Regions from separate parts of the Homo sapiens genome. Here region 1 is linked to region 2. Evidence: promoter capture Hi-C in 16 types of primary human blood cells and fetal thymus (Javierre and others, 2016). All regions are on one chromosome and are shown on one strand. Each heading gives the region's core, a stretch centred on a gene start or on the middle of the fragment in contact. The rest is flanking DNA. Distances are from core to core; before and after follow the strand shown.

Region 1 (6,151 bases), core at 1,609-4,108, 290 kb before region 2:
AGAACATTATGTTAAATGAAAGCAGTCACAAACGACTCCATATTTTGTGTTTCCATCTATATGAAATGTCTAGAATAGGTAAATCTATAGAGGCAGAAAATAGATTAGTGATTGCCAGGGGCTGAGGGAATGGGAGGGAAATGGGAAATGACTGTTAATGGGTATAGGTTTTCTTTTCGGGGTGATAACATTCTCCTAAAATTAGATTGTGGTATTGGTTCCACAACACTGAAAAACCATCTCACCTTCAATTGGTGAATTTTATAGTATATGGATTAGATCTCAACAAAAGTTTTTTTTTTTTTTTTTTTTTGAGACGGAGTCTGGCTCTGTCGCCCAGGCTGGAGTGCAGTGGTACAATCTCGGCTCACTGCAAGCTCCGCCTCCCGGGTTCACGCCATTCTCCTGCCTCAGCCTCCCGAGTAGCTGGGACTACAGGCGCCCGCCACCGCGCCCGGCTAATTTTTTTTTTGTATTTTTAGTAGAGACGGGGTTTCACCGTGTTAGCCAGGATGGTCTCGATCTCCTGACCTCGTGATCCGCCCGCCTCGGCCTCCCAAAGTGCTGGGATTACAGGCGTGAGCCACCGCGCCCGGCCAAAAGTTTTTATTAAAGAAAAGATTTATCTGGAGATGGATAGTGGTGATGGTTGCATAATATGAATGTACTTAATGTCCTTAAAAATTAAGGCGATAAATCTTGTTATAAGTAACACAATAAAAAATGAGTTTCAATAAATTATTTGGGGACATTTGAGTCTTATGCCTTAGCTTGGAACAACTCTCCTGTGAATAAAATGCTTGTGATGTGTTAAGCAACTGTGTTTGTATCTGAAATGAGTGACTACCAAAATGACGGTAAGGAATTTTTTAGAAGGCAATAGCCTGACCTTAGTAAGGGCTCAGATTTCTCCAGTGTGTACCTGGTGCCAATGAAGTACAGGAGATTTTGTTTTATCATCCCATCTCATGGATGAGGAAACTGAAGTTTGTTGAGATAACTTATGCAAGGCACAGATGAACCTGAACACGCCTTTATGTAACTAAAACCCTCACTGTTAACCACTATGCTTATATTCTGTGCCTCTGCTTTACTCAATTATAAAATGAAAGAGATTTAGATGATCTCTAATATCCTACCAACCTGAAATTGTTTCATTACAATAAAGCATTTCGTATATAATTGGGAAATATTCTGTATTATGTAAAAAGCTTAATCTGGCAGTGAGCTGCACTTGTGATTCTAGTATTTAAATTGTGGGTGCATATTATCAAAGCACCTTATGGTGCTGTGTCCCAGAGGAAACCAAACATGGAACCCATTTCAATCCCCATGCCAGCAGGCTCTTCAGACTGTAGTTCTCACCATGCCACAGCCCATCTGAGAGACACCACAGCATCTGCATAGTGATTTGTTGTTGTTTTTGAGATGGAGTCTCACTCTGTCACCCAGGCTGGAGTGAAGTGGTGCGATCTCAGCTCACTGCAACCTCCACCCCCTGGGTTCAAGCGATTCTCCTGCCTCAGCCTCCCTAGTAGCTGGGATTATAGGCGGGCGCCACCATGCCCGGGTAATTTTTTGTATTTTTAGTAGAGACGGGGTTTCACCATGTTGGCCAGACTGGTCTTGAACTCCCGACCATAGGCGATCCGCCGGCCTCGGCCTCCCAAAGTGCTGGGATTACAGGCGTGAGCCACCGCGCCCGGGCGTGATTTGTTTTAAATTTGTCATCTAAAGGACCACCAGGATAGCTAGATAGTAGACAAGAGTTTTACTATCAATATCAGTTTGCAAACCAGGGAGTCTCCAGCATGAACCCAAAGTGCTCTCTCAGAAGAACAGAGGTTAGAGGTTTTATTTTAAAAAGAGAAATATTAACTTATTTCTCTTTGAGAAAGTTCACTGGCACTAGTAAGGGTTTGGGGAGCTCTGACTGGTGAGCGAAGCCAGGGGGCCAGATCAGTCCTGGAGGTGGAAGTTATGCTGAAGCTATGGAATAAAACTGGCTTTAGGTCGGGCGCGGTGGCTTCTTCCTGTAATTTCAGCGCTTTGGGAGGCCGAGGCGGGCAGATCACTTGAGGTCAGGAGTTCAAGACCAGCCTGGCCAACATGGTTAAACCCCGTCTCTACTAAGTACAAAAAAACACTAGCCGGGCTGGCGCCTTGTAGTCCCAGCTTATGGGGAGGCGGAGGCAGGAGAAGCGCTTGACCCCGGGAGGCGGAGGCTGCAGTGGGCCAAGATCACGTCACTGCACGTCTCAAAAAAAAATTTTTTTTCTTTATAAAAAGACAAATTAAAAAACCTGGTTTCAGGTTACAACAGGCAGCTCAGCAGCCGGCCTGATGGTGACATTCCTCAAGGACGGCCTGCCCAGTGCTTCCTCCCTACCCCGCTGCTCGACTCTGCTGTGGTTGGGTATGGCAACAACGACACATTTTTATGATCAAGTTTCACAAATGACACACATGAACTGTCTTAGTAACACACAGAAACAAGCACCAGAAAGGAAGAAAACGAGCCGCAGTGCCGGGCATTCCGGGCCTTTCTGGACGTCCCCATCCGTGGCTGGAGGACAGCCCGGGCGGCGGCGGGCGGCCTCGGGGCGGGAGCGTGGGGGCAGGGCACGGCGAGCCCGGGGCTTCTCAGGACCACCAGGCCGCCTGGACGCTGGGGAGGAACCCCCACTCCGACAGCTGCTATGACGGAACCAACGGCGCTCCACGGTGCCCAGGTCGCCGCCGCTCCACCCGGCCAACTACACGTTCGCGCGGCGCCTATACGCACATGCCGTCAGCACGCACGGCGCTAGCGCGCGCGCATGCCGTCAGCACGCACGGCGTCGGTGCGTGCGCGCCCAGACGTTCTGCCGGGTGGCAGTCCCAGCGGAGTTTGCGTGTGCGGGCGGGACCGGATTTCGTCCGTGGGCCCGGGGGCGGCGGGGGCCGGGGAGTGAGGGGCCGGCTGAGCCCACCTCGCTGGGCCCTCCCTGGCGCCCCGCCTTGGGCGGCGGCGAGCGCGCGGGCCGCCATGTCGTACATGCTCCCGCACCTGCACAACGGCTGGCAGGTGGACCAGGCCATCCTCTCGGAGGAGGACCGCGTGGTCGTCATCCGCTTCGGCCACGACTGGGATCCTACGTGCATGAAGATGGACGAGGTCCTGTACAGCATCGCCGAGAAGGTAGCGCGCCGGACTCTCCCGCTCTGCGGGCTGTGCTTCCGCATCTGCCCCGCGCCTCTGCCCTGCCGGCGTCGCCTGGGGGCGCGAGCTGTTCCCCGAGGAGGGGCCGCGGCTCCGTCGTTCAGGCGATTCCTCCCCTCGCTGCGGTCGAGCGCTCTCGGGGACTGTGCCGGCGTTTCACGCCTTTTTCTGCGGGGAGCTCTTGTAGTTTTTCATATTTTAAAGGGTTTATGATCCCCCTCCTCTCAAATGAATTAATTATTTCTGTTGATAAGGCGTTTTTCCCAAACTTATAGTTCAGTGAACAAAATGCACTTGCAGGTTTTATTGAGAGCGCGGATCCTTAATTTAAAAGGACGTCTTTTTTTGGTACCTGAGTTATTCGTTGTATGCATAAAGCAGGACTTTCATGTTCATAGCATGAGAAATCCTGCTTTTCTGTGGGTGTGTTTTTTTATCCCACCACGCTTTTTGTGAGTCATGTGGTTTACAGCTTACAGTGATTGAGGTGCAGTAAACATCAGGAGAAAATAGAAATATGCTTTGTTAGAATTAGTTCTCTGAATTTCTAATATTAGTACACTGAGTGGTCTTGGCATTTACTTGCTGACAATAAAAGTTGTAGGACACTATTTTATAACCAGATTTCATTCTTTTTCTGTGGTTCCTCATAGCAATTTTAGGATGACTTTTATTGAGGTTTTGCAGCTGTAGCAATAGGGCAAAGGGCACAAATACTAGGGTGTTAATAAAATATTTGCCATATTAATTTTCCATAAGTAATTTGAGAGGTTATTCCTTTTAATGAAGAGTAAAAGTAACATTGAAGCTATCTTTTCTTTCACAGATGCTAAAAAGTAGGCCTGGGTTAAAATAACTCCTTTGAGTAAAGAGTAACAGATGTAAGGACATATTTTATATTCAGGAAAGGAAAGACTATCTGGCCTGCCATTTATTAATTTTTGCTATTTCTTATTTAGTAGGAGAGGCATGAAGTTAGGAACTGTTGTTATATTTTAGTTATTACAAGACTCCCTTGGAGTGCTTACTAGAATGCATCTGTGATTCTGATTCTATGGGTATGGGGTGAAGTCCAGCAATGGCTTTTTAAAGAAGCCCCTCAGGGAATTCTGATGCGACTTGACCTTGAACCACCTTCCATGGGGGTCAGGGATGGAGGTGGAGTAGCTTTAGTACCAGCCATCTCGCAGCCTCTTCCTCCTGGACACTGAGGACTTGAGGAGGGACCTAGGGAATTCGGGAGAGCAGCAGTTCTCTCACACGCTGGGGGTTCTGCCAGCCGGGGATTAGAGATGATGAGAGAGGCAGTGCCACACATCAGTTTGTCATTGCTTGAGCTGTAGTGGACAAGGGCAGATACTGGAAATCCAGCGAAGAATTGACTAAGAGCAGTTTCCCAATAAGTAAATCACTGCTGTATTGACTTTGAGTTATGAATTCTAGAATCTTTCACTGTTCTACATTGCAGGTGGTGGCATAAACATCGGGTGGTGTTCAGATCCTGCTGCCGGCAGCTCGAGGCTAGGATGGCTGGAGATGTGAGGGCCTTTGTCTCATCACATCCGAGCACAGCTCAGCAAGATGCTCTTAGCTAGAAAACAGATTTTATGTGTTAATGTAAGTGTTTAGGGTCTTTGCCAGATTTGCTCTTTTCCAACTCCTTTATGTCCAATTTCTTTGTTATTACAGAATGAATCACTGTATCACTAGTGGACACACATAGTGGACACACACTTAAGGACAGTTGAAATGGGCTCACTTTGGGGTATTTTTTTTGGTCTTTTAAAATAGTCTGATTTTTGTTTTTGTCCAAAAATTTGGATAGCTTTATTAATAAACTTTTAATGCGAATATTATAATATAGTTATTAAAAGGGCAAACCTAGGCCAGGCGCGGTAGTTCATGTCTGTAATCCCAGCACTTTGGGAGGCCAGCGTAGGCGATCACTTGAGCCCAGGGATTCGAGACCAGCCTGGACAATATGGTGAAACCCCTTCTCTACTAAAAGTACAAATGCCGGGCGTGGTGGCACGTGCCTGTAGTCCCAGCTACTTGGGAGGCTGAGGTGGGAGAATCACCTGAGCCCGGGAAGTCAAGACTGCAGTGAGCCATGATTACACCACTGAACTCCAGCCTGGGCAACAGGAGTGAGACTCTGTCTCCAAAAAAAAAAAAAGTGCACACCTGAAATGCATTAAAAGAATATTCATGTTTTATTTTCTTCTTAGTCTATGGGCAAATATGACTTCCTAATTCTGGAAGCCCTTTTTTGGAGAAGCTCAACAGAAATTTTTGAAATATAAGGTTTTAGTATAAAGAACAATATAACTATTTAAAAATTTCCCTGTGCAGAAATGGCAGATAATGGGGACTCTTCCTTACCTTGTTCCGAGTTCTGTCTGGATATTCCAGCTGTTTTAAAGTGAGTAACAGTTGCAAATGTTCAGGCTGGACTTGATATGATTTTTCCTAGATGTGTTGTATTGATTTGCTGCTTCCACAGGGCCCACTTGACTTCATGCTGGATTAGAGTTGAGCTGTAAACTTCAGGAATAAAGTCAGTTTGGAAACAGAGCTATGCTTAAAAGATTTCACAGATGCCTAGAGTTTGCTAATAAATGTGGGGCAATTCATTTGATAAAGTGATAATAATAAATAAAGTTTTCATCTGGGCACTGTGTCTCACGCCTGTGGTCCCAGCATTTTGGGAGGCCGAGGTGGGTGGTTCCCTTGAGCCCAGGAGTTCGAGAACAGCCCGGGCAACATGGTGAAACCTTGTCTGTACAAAAAATGCAAACATTAGCTAGGCGTTGTGGCATGTGCCTGTGGTCCCAACTACTTGGTAGGCCGAGGTGGGAGGATATGAGTCCAGGAGTTCAAGGCTGTGACAAGCCGTGATCGCGCCACTGCATGCCAGCCTGGGTGACAGAGCGAGACCCTGTCTCAAAA
Region 2 (6,272 bases), core at 158-2,657:
TGAGCTCCATGAGCAGCTGTCACATCCCTCCCCAGTTAGGACTTGGCTCAAGGGAACCCAGGCTGAGCCTGGCTGTTCACAGCTGCGGCGGCAGCACCTGGTGTTCCCGACACGCAGGTCACACAGCCTCGGGGCCCTGAGTCGCTTTTGCAGGCAGACTTGTCTGTGGAGAACCAAGGGCAACCGTCCCTGCTTCAGGAAGGCCGCAGTCCCATAAGTCATCCGTGTGATGAGGGGTTGTTTCAGTAACGACGATGACAACCACACGTCCGTGCTTCTGCAGCCACCCTCCTCCTGCAGCCGCCCTCCTCAGAGCACCACGCTTCCCCAACACGCCGCCACTGATGCCCGGCTCACCTCGGAGCTCACCATCAACTCCGGCACGCTGTGCACCATGGACACGGTCGCCGTGGACAGCGGCACCTGCTGCTTCCCGTTCTTACTCTGCAACCTGCAAGTGCAAGGACAGGTTCAGGGCTTTCAGCTGAGTCTCTGCGCACAGATGCACACTGGGCTCTAAGTGACAGGATTCTAGCTGATGTTTTAACGGACACACGCTGCTATCTTAGCACAGACTTGATTCTGTCGGCAAACGTGGAAACATTCTCCACAGACAGGAAAACTGGTGGAAACACTGAGCTCGTGGCCACACTCATGAACACACAGAGCCATAGTCCTTCATGAAAACAAACTGCAAAGTCACACAGAAGCAGAAACAGGCCCTCAACCATGAAAACGCAGAAAAAGTAGCTGCCGCACCTCCCACTTGGCATTAGAGGTAAAGCAGCCCCCAGCATGGGGCGCTCAGCGGCCCAGAGGGAGGGGCTGCTCCAGGCACTCAGCGATCTGCGTCTTCAGTCAGGAGAAAACAGGTCTCGGCCCTCCAGCATGCCCCCCCACCACACCTGAGAATGGCATGAGGCTGGGGTCACAGAGCAGGAAGGACTGCCTCCAGGGAAACCCATTGAGTGTGACTCGTATGGGGCCCAAGGGAGGCGTCTGCATCTGCCGCTGGGAAACCAAGGGCCTCACTGTGTTCCCAGCACAGCTTCTCGGACTCCCCGGAGGCCACCACCTCGAGCCCCAGCAGGCAGCGATCTCACTCTTCCGGATACTTACTGGGTGAGGTCTTGGCCACATTCAGCACACAGGCCTTTCATGACAACCGGGTGGCTGCATCCTTCCAACCTCACCAGAACCGCTCTACAAAAAAACACAAGGGGAACAACACTTTAAAATCTCTTGGTTTATCAAAAGAGCCCCCAAGTAAGAATTTTAAAATCTAGGTTTTTGTACCAATTCTACACTAACCCTTGCATAACTTTGTAGGCAGGTGACATCACCCCTTGAGGGCATTTCTTTGTCTATAAAATGAAAGGACTTTCCACCTACAGGTGTCTCTCATGAAAAATGACACGCCACCACACCTCACCACCCCCGTGCCACCCGTGGAACAGCTGAAAAAACTAAGGATGTCTGGTCCAAAGAGGAGACTTGGGGATAACATAAAGTTGTCTCAAAACACACTATTTATATGTGATCCTCTGACATTTCCGTTAGAGAATTTATAAAATCTAAAACTTTCATATCATTCCCAGTCTAGACAGAGGCTGATGCAACTACATTTTCCTGACAAAATGACTGTAATGTTCGTTTTATATAAACACAAACTGTTTTATTTGTCCAAACAGTGGTCTTCTGGCAGAAGCCATGGAAGAAGTGCTGAAATCTGAAGGCTATGAGACCAGAGGCCGCCTGGCACTCAGCGCCCGCCCCTAGGTGCCCTCAGCCCCCACACTCCCACCCCAGCCGGGCTGCTCCGACCGCCCCACCCTGCGAACATGAGACCACCCAGCACTCAGCGCCTGACCCTAGGTGTCCGCAGCCCCCACACTCCCACCCCAGCCGGGCTGCTCCGACCACCCCACCCCGTGGACATGAGACCGCCCAGCACTCAGCGCCCACCCCTAGGTGCCTGTAGCCCCCACACTCCCATCCCAGCCGGGCTGCTCCGACCACCGCGCCCCGCGGACACGAGGCTGCCCGGCACTCAGTGTCCCTAGGAGCTCGCAACCCCCACACTCCCGTCCCAGCTGGGCTGCTCCGACCACCCCACCCCGTGGACATGAGACCGCCCAGCACTCAGCGCCCACCCCTAGGTGCCTGTAGCCCCCACACTCCCATCCCAGCCGGGCTGCTCCGACCACCCTGCCCTGCAGACATGAGGCCGCCCAGCACTCAGCACCCGCCCCTAGGTGCTCACAGCCCCCACACTCCCGTCCCAGCCGGGCTGCTCCGACCACCCTGACCCGCGGACATGAGACAGCCACCCAAGCTGCATCTGTCAATGGGACCTTTCCAGGCGGGATGCCCCATGGCCCACCAAGACCCCCAGCCATGTCATCGAGAGGGCGCAAGGATCAGGCCACAGGCGGAAACAAGGCGGAGCCACATCCTCCATGCCCACTGTGCCATGGCAGGCTGTGCTGGGAGACTGGGAGGGGCGGGTCTGCAGCCTGCATCCTGCAGGGGAGCGGAGGGGCGGGTCTGTAGCCTGCATCCTTCAGGGAGACTCGGAGGGGCGGGTCTGTAGCCAGCATCCTGCAGGGAGAATGGGAGGGGCGGGTCTGTAGCCTGGAGGGGAGTGGAGGGGAGTTCTTCCTGGGGAGGAGGATGGGCGTGTGCGGATCACCCTGGAGGAGGAACGGTGCTGAGGACACACGGTGCGGGGCTCCGAGCCCTCGGGGATGGAGTGGGCTGCCGGTGACTATCAAGAATCTGAGCTCCTCCGGGTCCTGGGCCTGTGCGTACACAGTGCATGTGCAACACAAATGGATTCCGCGTTTACTCACGTCCCATCCCCAAGACATCTCGTCATGTATACGTGCAAATATTCCAAAATCCAAAAAAACCCAGAAATCCAAAACACTTCTGTTTCCAAGCAGTTTGGATATGGGAGACTCAACCTGTATCAGGTTTTTTTCTTAAACCAGACAACAAAATAGTGACACCTTGTTTGAAAAAGTGTGTTAAACTTTCTAAGGTGACAAGTATGATTTCCTTAATTTTATCAAAATACTTTACAATGAATGATTAGAGTTCTGCCCTAAAATGCCCCAATGAGCAGAGACTTAACCTAAAAACCCAATCTCTGAAAAAAAACAAAAACAAAAACAAAAAAAACGCACAAACCCCACACTGGACCATCCTCCCTCCCGGTCACCACACCTGCTCAAAGACACTGCCAGGCTTCACAGGCCTCAGGGACACCTGCTCCCTGCTTGCTGAGGCCACAGGGGCCATCCCCGCCCAGGAGTCTGTGTCCCTACCGCCATCGCACTCGGGGCCTCCACATCCAGGCTCCTCTCCGATGCCTGGCAGCCCCCAACTCCCCGGCTGAGCTGTTTTCGTCCATCCACAGGGCTCTGCGGCCCCACCGCCAACACCCAAACCCAGTCCTCCCAATGGCCCCACGTCCTTTCCCTGGGCACTGCTCCCCCAGTCCTGGCAGCAACCCCACTTGGGAGCCCCAGCCCCTCTAACAGGCTTCCCTGGTCTCCAGCTGACATCATTTTGCAATCAGCCTTCTGCAAGGAAACTCTGCACAGCTCCTGCCCCACACAGGACACCAGCTCATGGCAGGCTCCTCATTCTACCCCCTGCCCCACACAGGACACCAGCTCACGGCGGGTTCCTTGCTCTACCCTCTGCCCCACGCAGGACACCAGCTCACGGCGGGCTCCTCGCTCTACCCCCTGCCCCATGCAAGACACCAGCTCACCGCGGGCTCCTCCTTGCTCTACCCCCTGCAAGGGGAAGAGAGGGAAAGGAATCCTCAAATATGAACTAGGAGGATTTTGCCAATCTCTCCTAAACATGTTAACATGAAGAAGGATCTGGGGTGGCTCTAGTTTAACCAATAAACAGGTGTTTTTTTGTAGAAATTGACAAGTTGCTTCTGAAATTTATATGGAAGTTCAGAAAACCTAGAATCTCAATTTTCAAAAATAACAGAGAACTTTTACTACCTGACTTCAGAACTTATCAGGCATACAACATAAACGCATGGAACAGAGGAGTCCAGAAAGACTCAAAGGTATGACCGACAGACGACCCACCAAGGTGCCCAGAAAACTCCATGGCGGGCGGGGGGCACCTTCCAGCCAGTGGGGCTTCACACAAATGGATCAACGGCTGACAAACGCCTGCAGAGTGTGTTCTGCAAAGGTTTTCTCCACTGTTCCCCACCCGGAGTCCACCCTGGGAGCCGTCCACTCCTCCCCACCCCGAGTCCACCCTGGGAGCCGTCCACTCTTCTCCCACCCCGAGTCCACCCTGGGAGCCGTCCACTCCTCCCCACCCCGAGTCCACCCTGGGAGCCGTCCACTCCTCCCCACCCCGAGTCCACCCTGGGAGCCGTCCACTCCTCCCCCACCCCGAGTCCACCCTGGGAGCCGTCCACTCCTCCCCCACCCCGAGTCCACCCTGGGAGCCGTCCACTCCTCCCCCACCCCAAGTCCACCCTGGGAGCCGTCCACTCCTCCCCCACCCCGAGTCCACCCTGGGAGCCGTCCACTCCTCCCCACCCCGAGTCCACCCTGGGAGCCGTCCACTCTTCTCCCACCCCGAGTCCACCCTGGGAGCCGTCCACTCCTCCCCACCCCGAGTCCACCCTGGGAGCCGTCCACTCCTCCCCCACCCCGAGTCCACCCTGGGAGCCGTCCACTCCTCCCCCACCCCGAGTCCACCCTGGGAGCCGTCCACTCCTCCCCACCCCGAGTCCACCCTGGGAGCCGTCCACTCCTCCCCACCCCGAGTCCACCCTGGGAGCCGTCCACTCCTCCCCCACCCCGAGTCCACCCTGGGAGCCGTCCACTCCTCCCCCACCCCGAGTCCACCCTGGGAGCCGTCCACTCCTCCCCACCCCGAGTCCACCCTGGGAGCTGTCCACTGTTCCCCAGCCCGAGTCCTGCCTGGGAAGCTGTGTGACCCGTCGCACATTGACACTAGGCTGCCACAAAGGACGGGGGCCTCCTGCTCCAAGGAAGGGCTGGTAGCAAGCCCAGGTGCCACCTGCCTTCCCCAGCACAGGTCTAAGAGCGAGTGTAAGCTGGCCCTGCTTCCCACAAACAGCCTCCCTTGGGCCACCAGCGCAGCCTGAGGTCTGAAGAAAGTTGACTATAAGCTGAGTCGGGTGCGCACTGCCTGCTGTCACCAACAGTGTAATACGAGTCAGACGAGAGCGACTGCAAGACGGAGGTGCCACCGGCAGATGACTACAGCAGATGCCTAGTTCTACACGAGGAAGGAAGCTTCTAGAACAGTGTCACAGCAGCTGTAACAGCTGGGTCTTGACAGACGAGTAGGAAGCAGGTGAGGGCTGGAAATGGCAACCACGCAAGGTCCCGGTGGCAGAGACAAGGCCGGCTCCTGACGCCAAGGGCACCTGCGCCCAGTGCACGCAGGCAGCACTCCGCAGGCTTCCAGCAACGTGACCAAACACAGGCCTTCGTAGAAAATCACTCGCATACTGGCCACGTCGGAGTCACGTAATTTTCTGTACTGCGGTTGAAAGGTTCTGACTGTCTTATTCTAGTGCAGGCTCTGCTCCACCCCCCACCCCAGGACTCCTGTAGTGGCTGGAGACACTCCTGGATATCACACCTGGAGGCAGGGAAGCTGCTCAGCAACCCACAGCATGCAGGATGCTCCCAGCCAGGCCATCTGGCTCAGAATGTCTGTGTGTGCAAAGGCTGGGAAACCCGCGTGCAGACAGGGAGCAGAGAGCAATGTCTTTTCTTAATACGAGACATTTCTACACTTCGTCTTTGCAGATGCTGACAGAAAACAGGGGTGAAAAGCCCTGAACGCTCTCATTCCAGCCTCCACGCTCCAGGCAGAGAAACGTCTCCACACCTTAAAAAGGGGTGTGACACGTTGTGGATTCTTGAATGCGGATACACAAACGTAAAAACACCCAACCAAAGAGCTCAGCCCAAAAACGTCCAATCAGTCACCAATAAATGTTTTCTGGTTTGTCCTAAAGAAAATCCATGAGAAAGCCATGACATGCAACTTCTAAACAAGTTATTTGCCTCAAAATACACAAGTATAGTAAGTACCAAACTCTGTGGGGTTCTGGCCTCTCAGCTCTCTCAGGGGAGGTCCGAGGGCATGGGTACATCAGAGAGGGCTACGGGCTGGGCCTGGACCATGGACGCCATCACCTCTGAGCATCGCCTCCAGGTGGGTCCAACCTTCTCCCTTCCTTC

What was found. The method cuts DNA at HindIII sites, captures the fragments that hold promoters and counts their contacts. A CHiCAGO score of 5 or more calls a contact.
Region 1: the fragment with the promoter of TXNL4A here is called in contact with a fragment that was not itself captured in region 2 in 2 of 17 cell types (naive CD8 T cells and M2 macrophages); the score reaches 5.3 in naive CD8 T cells.

The regions. Positions count from the first base shown.
Region 1 is chr18:79,985,270-79,991,420 of GRCh38, reverse strand. It overlaps TXNL4A (thioredoxin like 4A), which reads left to right and starts at 2,858. Exons shown (of 3, transcript NM_006701.5): 1 at 2,858-3,181. The coding sequence starts at 3,029. RefSeq lists silencers at 2,476-2,765, 2,806-3,045. The HindIII fragment of the contact is 10,310 bases long and covers 1,214-6,151 here.
Region 2 is chr18:79,690,156-79,696,427 of GRCh38, reverse strand. It overlaps CTDP1 (CTD phosphatase subunit 1), which reads right to left. Exons shown (of 13, transcript NM_004715.5): 2 at 1,120-1,203; 3 at 358-451. Among named protein-coding and RNA genes, the nearest start is that of CTDP1, 13 kb to the right of the region's middle. The HindIII fragment of the contact is 7,815 bases long and covers 1-5,314 here.